Linked DNA regions of Homo sapiens: region 2 is linked to region 1. Evidence: promoter capture Hi-C in human tissues and cell types (Jung and others, 2019). All regions are on one chromosome and are shown on one strand. The core of a region is centred on a gene start or on the middle of the fragment in contact, and the rest is flanking DNA. Distances in the headings are between cores, read along the strand shown.

Region 1 (5,387 bases), core at 715-3,214:
GAACTGAAAGGGGAGTGAGGAGATATAGCTCCCCAAGCCAGGCTAAATCCTGTTGGGCTGAGGGCTCCTCTCTCCCCCAGCCTCCTTATCTACAGCCTTGGGGCCCATAGTTCACAGCCCAGACCCACCCTGTGGACCTTCCCTGTCTTCTAGGGTCCAGGCCTATCTAACTGAGGGGTCTGTCAGGCTAAGGTTGTCCCCCAGGGGCCTCAGTCTAGTGTTGGGGGACCAGTTACCAAGGGGCAGCTGCTGAGATCCAAGTGTGGGACTAGGCTCCCCCACCCCCACTCCTCATAAACAGAAGAGAGAACTCTGGGAAATCACCTAGTCGGAACTACGTTTTCTTTTTCTTTTTTTGGAGATGGAGTCTCGCTCTGTCACCCAGGCTGGAGTGCAGTGGCACAATCTCAGCTCACTGCAACCTCCACCCCCTAAATTCAAGCTATTCTCCTGCCTCAGCCTCCCTAGTAGCTGGGATTACAGGCACCCACCACCACGCCCGGCTAATTTTTGTTTTTAGTGGAGATAGTTTCACCATGTTGGCCAGATCTGTCTGTTCACCATGTTGGTCTTGAACTCCTGACCTCAAGCGATCCACCCGCCTCGGCCTCCCAAAGTGCTGGGATTACAGGCGTGAGCCACCACGCCCGGTCACATATTTTATTTTAAAAACATTTTTAGCAGTTTTTTTGTTTTGTTGAGTTTTGTTATGTTGCCCAGGCTGGTCTTGAACTCCTAACCTCAAGCAATCCTCCTGCCTTGGCCCCTCAAAGGAGTGCTAGGATTACAGGCATGAGCCACGGTGCCCAGCCCAGAACTACATTCTCATTGAAGAGAATAAGATCCAGCAAGGCCTACAGAGCATGTTGGAAGTGTCCTGAGAGCCAAAGCCCATGATTCCTCCATATCAGGGGGGCACTGGGTAGAGCCAGGAAGGAAGGGGGAGTCCCCAAGGCCCATACTGTGGACCCCATTATACAGCTTCCATATACTGAGGCTGCAGAGGAGGTATGGGCCTCCACTTACGTGCCTCTCTGACTCTGAGGTCCAGTCAGCAAGGCCAGATCCCATCCTAAGACCCTTATGGCCCTGGGAGAGCAGGGCATAACACACCTTCCTCTGACACCATCTTGTCGCTGATAGCTCAGGAGAAGCACATGGAAGAATGGTCCCGGCCGGGCGCGGTGGCTTACGCCTGTAATCCCAACAGTTTGGGAGGCTGAGGCGGGCGGATCACCTGAGGTCAGGAGTTTGAGACCAGCCTGGCCAACACTGTGAATCCTGTCTCTACTAAAAATACAAAATTAGCCGGGTGTGGTGGTGCGCGCCTGTAATCCCAGCTATTCAGGAGGTTGAGACAGGAGGAGGTTGAGGCTGGAGAATCGCTTGAACCTGGGAGGCGGAGTTTGCAGTGAGCCGAGATCGCGCCACTGCAATCCAGCTTGGGCCACAGAGCAAGACTCCTTCTCAAAAAAAAAAAAGGACAGTCCTTTCCCACAAAGGGTGGCGCCCCATAACATCTCTTGTAAGTGCCCCACATCTCCCCTCTGGTCTTCCACACAATCCTGGTCTCTGTTCTCCACATGGTGGGCCCCCAGGCCACCTCTGGGCACCAGCCACTGAGGGTGTTGCTACTAAGTGCAAACTAGTTCCACCGCAAGCAAAGAGCCCAGTGTCCTGCCCCCCTTCTCGCTGCGAACCAGTCGGTAGTGGGGGGATGGGATGGGACGGCTCAGACTGGCTCACCTCTCTCCAGGCCACACCATGCACATCCACCCACAGGCCGCTGAGAAAAAGGCGCCAAGACGCCAGGTGAAGGTACAGGAGCCAGGCCTCCAAGGGCCGGAAGAGTCGGATGGGCGGAGGGCCTGGGCTAGGCCAAGCCTTCCTCGCGGCCCCGCCCCCACGGCCCGACTCCGCCCGCCCAGCCCGGCGCCCTCGGGTCGGCTGAGCGCTAAGCGCCAGTGTACAGCGGCGGCTGGGGCGGCAGGTGAGGCGGCTGGGGCGTTGCTGTCGTGCGTCCGCAGGCGTCAGGTGCTCAGACCCGAGGGCCGGGAAGGGATTTGGGTTTCACAGGAACCTGGGGCGGGGGTCCGCTATCTTGGGGCTGTCGGGACCGCTGCTTAAATTTGGCCCAGTCCAGACCTCGAGTCGGGCCCCCAGCCAGGCCCACGCCCAGGTCCAGGCCCAGGCCGGTAGGGATCCTCTAGGGTCCCAGCTCGCCTCGATGGAGCTCCTCCCGCCGCTGCCTCAGTCCTTCCTGTTGCTGCTGCTGTTGCCTGCCAAGCCCGCGGCGGGCGAGGACTGGCAGTGCCCGCGCACCCCCTACGCGGCCTCTCGCGACTTTGACGTGAAGTACGTGGTGCCCAGCTTCTCCGCCGGAGGCCTGGTACAGGCCATGGTGACCTACGAGGGCGACAGAAATGAGAGTGCTGTGTTTGTAGCCATACGCAATCGCCTGCATGTGCTTGGGCCTGACCTGAAGTCTGTCCAGAGCCTGGCCACGGGCCCTGCTGGAGACCCTGGCTGCCAGACGTGTGCAGCCTGTGGCCCAGGACCCCACGGCCCTCCCGGTGACACAGACACAAAGGTGCTGGTGCTGGATCCCGCGCTGCCTGCGCTGGTCAGTTGTGGCTCCAGCCTGCAGGGCCGCTGCTTCCTGCATGACCTAGAGCCCCAAGGGACAGCCGTGCATCTGGCAGCGCCAGCCTGCCTCTTCTCAGCCCACCATAACCGGCCCGATGACTGCCCCGACTGTGTGGCCAGCCCATTGGGCACCCGTGTAACTGTGGTTGAGCAAGGCCAGGCCTCCTATTTCTACGTGGCATCCTCACTGGACGCAGCCGTGGCTGCCAGCTTCAGCCCACGCTCAGTGTCTATCAGGCGTCTCAAGGCTGACGCCTCGGGATTCGCACCGGGCTTTGTGGCGTTGTCAGTGCTGCCCAAGCATCTTGTCTCCTACAGTATTGAATACGTGCACAGCTTCCACACGGGAGCCTTCGTATACTTCCTGACTGTACAGCCGGCCAGCGTGACAGATGATCCTAGTGCCCTGCACACACGCCTGGCACGGCTTAGCGCCACTGAGCCAGAGTTGGGTGACTATCGGGAGCTGGTCCTCGACTGCAGATTTGCTCCAAAACGCAGGCGCCGGGGGGCCCCAGAAGGCGGACAGCCCTACCCTGTGCTGCGGGTGGCCCACTCCGCTCCAGTGGGTGCCCAACTTGCCACTGAGCTGAGCATCGCCGAGGGCCAGGAAGTACTATTTGGGGTCTTTGTGACTGGCAAGGATGGTGGTCCTGGCGTGGGCCCCAACTCTGTCGTCTGTGCCTTCCCCATTGACCTGCTGGACACACTAATTGATGAGGGTGTGGAGCGCTGTTGTGAATCCCCAGTCCATCCAGGCCTCCGGCGAGGCCTCGACTTCTTCCAGTCGCCCAGTTTTTGCCCCAACCCGGTAAGCTGAAAGAAGGGGCCCTTACTTGTGAGCTGCATGCACATGGCTGAACACAGGCTGCTTCCCTTCCATCACTGAGGGGATCTGGGGGCGCGGTGGGGGGGCAGGCGGAAAGAAGCATTCTCTCTCACCCAGTTCCTAAGTGCTGGGGTGGTGTGAGAAACCAGCCAGACAAAGGCTACACTGGAGGCTTAGCTCCCAGGCTGGCCCTTGTGGCTGCCTCATCTTGCTCTTTCCCCTACCTGCCCATCATGGCCTCTGGTTTTTTAGGTAGTTTCCCTGGCTATGTGAGGATAGGGTTACATAACCGTGTCTCTGTTAGCATAGCTCCTGAATGCTGGGTAGAATGATGGGCATTCCCTCCTACTTGTCCACCACCCATATCCTCAGGGACACACGCAGAAAAATAGCACTCCCCCCTCCCCTCCCCCACCCCCGCCACCACCACCACCACCACGCACAAATACACAGGGAGATGCTCACAGATTCACAGACTCACAGCTGCTTGCCAACAGTTTCACTTTCCCTTGTTTTGCTCTGCTTTCCAAAGGGGGTGGGACGGGAGTTGTCAGAGAATCTCCCCTTCCTCCACACCCCCTCCCCCCACCCACCCCCATCCTTCTGCCAGCCACCACGTTCCAGGGAGCCTCCTGGGCCTTGGAAGTTGGGAGCTTGTTAGGGAGCCTGCATGTCCTGGGCTTCACTAACGTTTTTGCCATGATTGGGGGTGATTGGGGGAGTACCCAGAACTCATGGAATGGCAGCTTGGTTCTAGAAGGTTCTGGGAGCCTCACTCTAGTCTTGTGCAAGCAACTATAAACATCTGGGGATAAGTAAAGGCCTAGGAAGGGCTGGTTGGAATTGGTCCATCCCAGACTTTTTTTTTTAACTGTATTTGGAGCCCTACCCCAGGCAGGAAGTCTCAAAGCCTGTGCTGAACTGGGGGCTCCTTCCACAGACTCTATCTAGGTTCTCTCCAGCCATCGTGTAGGCAACAGCAGTAAGATTGGACCAAGGAATGGGACCCACAGCTACTGTTCTTAGATTCTCTAGCTATCATCCTGTGGCCCTGGGCCTGCTGTGACATTCTCGAAAGACTCCTTTCCGCTCCTATTGATGCCTCGGAGATGGGAGAACTTACACCCAATGTGAGGTTGGGGGTCTTTAGCCTCCCTCCCTCTGCTGAGTACATCTGGGTTGAGAGGCCCTAGGGTTGGGGACTCCTTGTCTGGGCCTGGGCAGGCCTGCCTGGCCCCTTCTCCTTCCCAATGGGGAGTCAGAACCTCTCCCCAGCTTGCCTAGTGGTCAGTGGGTCAGAAGACACCCAGCACGGCTGGGCAGTGCCAGGCTCCAGGAAGACTAATCTTGGTCCCTGCTCACAGGCTGGCCAGGCCCCCAGGAGGTGTGTGAATCACCCCGTGCAGTGTTTGCCCAGCAACTCTGGGCATGCAGCCACTAGGGCAGCACCCACATAGTGGTTGGCCTCAGGAGGCCTGAGGGACTCAGAGCTGGTGCCTGTCCTCCATGGGACATTGGACACTTACGTGTTTTCAGGAGCTGGGGGCCCCTACCTAAGCCTGGGAACGTAGAGCTAAGGTCCTGGGGCTAGGGACAAGCAGGCTAGGGTGTGGGCCTGACTAAGGTAGGGCTCTATTCCCCTTCAGAGCCCCACCTGTCCCTGAGTCATGCTAGAAACACCTGGCAGCCTTCCGGCTCGGGCCAAGCCAAGCCGATTTCCTGCCTCAAGTGAGGACAAAATCCCAGTCCCCACCCACCCCAAGCTGTAGGCACAAGGTGTATGGGGTTTCGAGGCTCAGCTCCACATCTACTTTTGCCTCCAGGGCTACTAATCAGTGCTGAGGTCTCAGGACTGGGTTAAGCCTCTGTGGTCTGATGGAGCCTTCAGAGGCTCCTGCTTCGAGGAGTGCCC
Region 2 (5,568 bases), core at 507-3,006, 62 kb after region 1:
AGAACTGGACTCCCCATTCTGGGCTTATCTTCTGGTTCTGCTCCAGTCATCACCTTGGTTTGGGGAGTTGTAAAATAGAGGCAAATCACTTCTTCCCCTTGCCCTTCCATACTGTACCCATCCATCCCATAAGAAAAGGGCCATATTGGCTATACTTGTGGGTTTTGTACTAGGTAGTTTGAAGAGTCAAGGCCTTCCCAGTACCTCACAGAGGGGATGCTCAACTAAGACCTCAGTGAGGCTGGGCCATATTTCCGAAAGTGGTTCATACTCTACTGATGAGGCCAGCCTGAAGAACCTTCCATTAGCACTCTAGTCCTTGGCTGGGCTGCTCTCCTGAGCCAGATCAAACAGCATCCTAGGGAGGAGCAAGGGCCTTTGAAGTCAGCTGTGCTGAGCTGACCAACCAGATCAAAGTCTGCAGAGTGAACAGCCTTAGACCCAGATGAATTTTGCATCAGCCTGGGTTGGTGAGCCTCTTGCTCTCCAAGGGGCATGAGAGGCGATTGATCTGAACCCACGATTGATATTCTGGCCTTGTAGGCAGGAGCAGTCCTTGCTGGATGCCATTTGAAAGGGAAAGGGAGCCATCCTTGTGAACAGACAAGGCCCCAGGATATTCATTGTCTCTGTTCCTGCTTGGGGGCTGGGCTGGATCACATGGTCTGGCTGGTGGGAGGGAGCAAACTGGCACCTGGCTGCAGAGCAGGAGTCTCTCATGGTATTCTCAGGTCAGAGACAAGTGGTCTTAGGCTGAAGGCAGCCTGGCCAGCTTCCCCTGGCTCAATTATTCATTCTTGGCAACTGTCCATGGGTCTGGGTGTTGGATGGTGAGGCCTGGGTTTGTGCTCTGGACTTCTTCAGCCACCTGCACAACATGTACCATGAGGCCCAGACCACTGGACCTTGGCAGCCCACAGTGGGCCTGTAAATGCTGGCAGTGGGCTGTGTCTACTGTAAGATACCTTTCAGGAGGAAGCAGGCAGGGAGGTGAAGAAGCAGCTGGCTTAGAGCCTTTTAGAAGAAGAAGCACAAGCGAGAGTGGGACCCAGGAGCTTTACCTCCTGGGGTTTGGGAGTACATGGTTATCAGCATTTTCAAAACATAAGCTGCAGAGAGTTCTGGAGCAGAGTTTTCCTAGTGACTTTAGCAATGGCTCCTGAGGGCCTCCAAGCATCAGGTATGGGTGTATTTGCTCTTCAGAAGCAGATGAAGTACTTAGAGCAGCAGCAGGATGAGACCAAACAAGCACAAGAGGAGGCCCGCCGGCTCAGGAGCAAGATGAAGACCATGGAGCAGTGAGTTTGGAGCTGGGTCCTGCACTGTGCCTTTGCCCCCAGGGCCTGCAAGTGGTACAGTTCTTAGGACTGCAGCAGGGAGTGGGATTGGGTCATGTCCGAGGCTCAAATCTCCATAGGCCATGGAGGGCTCAGGTCAGCTGGGTGTGGGCACAGATCTTAGCCTCTATGAACTCTTCCCCCATTCCAAGGAATGGGAGCCCTTGCCACATTCCTCCCTGTCTCTGCTGCCTGTGGCCAGATGACCTGGTGGGTCTTTCCTTCCAGAAACCTCTCTCCAGGAAATCCCTGACCTTGAGACCCTCTTTCAGCACCTCTTCTTTCTCAGCAGCATCCTTGGAGCTATGCTCATCTCTGCCACAGGGCCTTTCCTTGGGCACACCCACCTACTAAAGCATCCTGGCAGCCTAGCCTGTTACCTTAGCAACGGCAGCAAAGGAAGGCAGAGCGGCACTGGGTACCTACCCATCAGCCTCCAGATTGCAAATGCCGTGGGCTGGGTGTATTTTTCAGGATTGAGCTTCTACTCCAGAGCCAGCGCCCTGAGGTGGAGGAGATGATCCGAGACATGGGTGTGGGACAGTCAGCGGTGGAACAGCTGGCTGTGTACTGTGTGTCTCTCAAGAAGTGCGTACTGTGGCCCCTCTCAGCAAACACAGGAGATAGGCCATGGGGCCCCAGCCGTGTCATTGCTCCCCATCTCTTGTAAAGCAGATGGAACTAAGGGGCAAACTCTGGAGCCATGCTGCCTTTGTTTGAACCCTGATTCCACCTTTCAGCAACTATGTGGCCTGCTGCCAGTTTCTTGGCCTCTTTGACCCTCAACTTCCTGAATGGAAATAGTAGTAGACCTGCCTCATAGGATTGTTGAGGATTTAGTGTGAATCTTAAGTGCTGTTTCTAAGGGAGTTGACCTAGCTCTCTGGGCTATAAGCCCCATTGTGATTGATATGTAGAGCCTGTTCCCCATTAGCACTATGATCCTGCCTGGCTGGGATCAAACTCTACTCATATTCTTCACTCTGGTGGGTGTAAGGTTGGCAGGAAGGGTGGAGGGCCACTTAGCTGAGAGGCATAGAGGGTCCAAGATGCCTCCTTTAAGACCAGGTGGTTTAGGGAGCCCCCTAGTGAGACTGGGGCTTTCTGCATGCCCTCTCAAGTCACCAGTGCCTGCAGGACAGGCAGGAGGAAATAGTCACTTCCTTGCATTCTCTGCAGGACCCTCCACAGTGCCACCTGGTACTTGTTGGGCTCAGGTGTCAAAGTAGGAATGAGAGTGAGTTGAGGGGTTGGGCAGTGCTTTGTGTTAGATTAGTGCTGTGGCTCAGTCTGACCTGCAGGTGTTCTTTTCTGGCATCTCTTTCCATGGCCACATTGCAGAGAGTACGAGAATCTAAAAGAGGCACGGAAGGCCTCAGGGGAGGTGGCTGACAAGCTGAGGAAGGATTTGTTTTCCTCCAGAAGCAAGGTAACTTAGCAGTGAACAGAGGTTGAAGGAGAAGTGGCTCTCCTTTTGTCATGTTCACTCTGGTCTCCTGAGCAAGGCCATGGGACCTGATGGCACAGCTGACTCCCTGGGGCAGCTGGAGGACTTACAGAAATTTGTTACCAGTCCTTACTGGGCATTGGCCTGAATATGTGGCTTGTCCACTAGGGGTGGACAGATCACAGAGGTATCCCCCAACATGTGGACACTGATGCTCCCCTCTGCTCTTCCTGGCTCCTGGGTACCTCTCAGCTGGCTGGAGAGCACAGGCCTCAAATGTGACAGCATCAGAGGCCTATTTTTGTACCACATCTGGAGTAGAAGGGCTCCTGGAACCTGATTCGGTCAGCACAGCTGCTTTTACTTCTGGCATGGTGCATCCACAGGCTGCAGGATGTAGGAAGCAGCCTTTGCTTCTAGGCAGCTCCGGATGTGCATTGCCAGACTGAGGCCTAGCCTCAGAGAGCTGGGATCTCTGCCCATATCTCTAGTCTCTTCTGGGCTACCTTGATCACTCCCTGGGGAGCAGCAGGAGGGGGCAGGGCACAAGGCTACCACTTGGCTTGTCTTTCATTCCCTACACTTTCTTATAGTTGCAGACAGTCTACTCTGAATTGGATCAGGCCAAGTTAGAACTGAAGTCAGCCCAGAAGGACTTACAGAGTGCTGACAAGGAAATCATGGTGAGGGACATCCCTGGCTTGACAGGAATGAGGGGTGGTTTGTGTGCCCTCCCAGAGCAGGGCTGGGCTATCTCTGCCCAGGACCCTTGCACCAGTCAGTGGTGGTTCTGGGCCCCTGCATCCTCCTGGGTCAGGGTGTGCCCCTTGGCCCTGGTCCGGACTGGAGCCTGGGCCTCCTCAACAGAGGGCAGACAGAACCATGAGTCTTCCCTCATAGTCTGTCCTGCACTTACATCCCTGAGGTCCCTTATCAGAGGAGGGGCTCTACCTGGGGCTTGGCCTCCTGAGCCTAATGATGAGGTATCAGGCCTTGCTCTGTTCCCAGTGGGCTGGCCTTTCATGCATGCTGCTCATGTCCTCTGCATTATCTCCGGACTTGATGCCTCAGCCTTTCTCTCACACACTTTTCTTTCCCTCCCCAAGAGCCTGAAAAAGAAGCTAACGATGCTGCAGGAAACCTTGAACCTGCCACCAGTGGCCAGTGAGACTGTCGACCGCCTGGTTTTAGAGAGGTTTGTTGAGCCTTGGGCGGTACAGGGGTCACAAGGTGGGAGAGCTTTCTGGTAACAGTCTTTACTCCTCCTGGCTTTGGTGGGGTGGGTGACCTCTGTGGACCTGATGTCTGCAGACAGCCTGCCCTGGGAGCCAGCCAAGATTTAGCTGGCAAGCAGCCTTGAAGCAAATTAGGCTCTGACACGGAGAGGCCAGAGAAGGCCAGAGGACCTAGAAGTGGTCTGAGAATAGGGCAGAAGCACTGACTGTCTTGGGGCATCCTGTTTATGGAGTAGCTCCCCACATTTATCTGTCCACCCCAGATTTTGAAACAAATATGAAACCACTGTAAAATAATTCCCTTAGTGCCAGGAGTGCGTGCTTTAAAGCTGCCAGCAGAGGGAGCCACGAGGCAGAAGGATTGGTGTCCCTGCAAGCATGGGCATCCATTTCTGCTCCTGAGAGTTTCACAGAAGCAGACTAGCTGAGAGCATCCTCAAGGCTACCTCCTGCCTGCCAAAAGTCCCCAGCAAGGACCCAGACAGAAAGCACACAACTCCTGTCAGTGGCCCCAGTCTTTTTTTTTTTTTTCCTTTTTCTTTTTTTAATGGAGTCTTACTCTGTTGCCAGGCTGGAGTGCAGTGGCACTATCTCGGCTCACTGCAATCTCTGCCTCCTGGATTCAAACAATTCTCCTGCCTCAGCCTCCTGAGTAGCTGGGATTACAGGCGCGCACCACCACGCCTGGCTAATTTTTTGTATTTTAGTAGAGACGGGGTTTCACCATGTTGGCCAGGATGGTCTCGATCTCCTGACCTCGTGAGCCACCTGCCTCGGCCTCCCAATGTGCTGGGATTACAGGCGTGAGCCACTGCGCCCAGCCCAGTCTTTAATCTTTTTTTTTTTTAGATGGAGTCTCACTCTGTTTCCCAGACTGGAGTACAGTGGTGCGATCTCGGCTCACTGCAACCTCCGCCTCCCAGGTTCAAGCGATTCTCCTGCCTCAACCTCCTGAGTAGCTGGGATTACAGGCATGTGTCACCATGCCCAGCTAATTTTTGTATGTTTTGGCAGAGACGGGTTTCACCATGTTGGCCAGGCTGGTCTTGAACTCCTGACCTCAAGCAATCTGCCCACTTGGGCCTCCCAAAGTGCTGGGATTACAGGTGTGAGCCACCGTGCCTGGTTGCTTTTGTTTACTTTCTTTACCTCTTCAGGGTGCTGGAAGGCCTGGACTCCTACAGCAGGTCCTTGATGAGTGCCCACTGCATGGCAGACCTTCTCTGTTCTCTTGGAGCTTATGTTCCAGTGGGATAGATGAGCTTGGAGCTTAGATGGCTAAGCCCACAGCCAACCAGCTATATACTACATTATAGAATCTGGTCTGTAGCTCCCAGTTGGGGACGGGCCCACCTCATTCTGAGTAAGCTTCATGCCAGGGCCTGCAGCCCATCTTGGTACAGGGAGGACAGCAATGGTCTCCCTTGGCTTTCAGGCCAGCAGGACACTAAACTTGACAAGCCTTCTTCTGTAAGCTGGGCTGGGCTTCTCATCAAGCCACATGAGGATGACTTCATTCATTTTTGTCTCCAGTATTTTTCTGGGCATA

Evidence for each region. Contacts are between HindIII fragments. The study calls those that stand out against the background at their distance.
Region 2: a fragment that was not itself captured here is called in contact with the fragment with the promoter of MST1R in region 1 in 4 of the 25 tissues and cell types used here (lymphoblastoid cells, neural progenitor cells, spleen and 1 more).

What each region holds. Positions count from the first base shown.
Region 1 is chr3:49,900,450-49,905,836 of GRCh38, reverse strand. It overlaps MST1R (macrophage stimulating 1 receptor), which reads left to right and starts at 1,964. Exons shown (of 20, transcript NM_002447.4): 1 at 1,964-3,457. The coding sequence starts at 2,228. RefSeq lists enhancers at 919-1,591, 1,580-1,629, 2,266-2,939, 2,940-3,613 and a silencer at 1,820-2,039. The HindIII fragment of the contact is 20,801 bases long and covers 1-5,387 here.
Region 2 is chr3:49,838,183-49,843,750 of GRCh38, reverse strand. It overlaps TRAIP (TRAF interacting protein), which reads left to right. Exons shown (of 15, transcript NM_005879.3): 6 at 1,204-1,298; 7 at 1,812-1,925; 8 at 2,679-2,766; 9 at 3,378-3,467; 10 at 3,891-3,979. Among named protein-coding and RNA genes, the nearest start is that of TRAIP, 16 kb to the left of the region's middle. The HindIII fragment of the contact is 9,996 bases long and covers 1-5,568 here.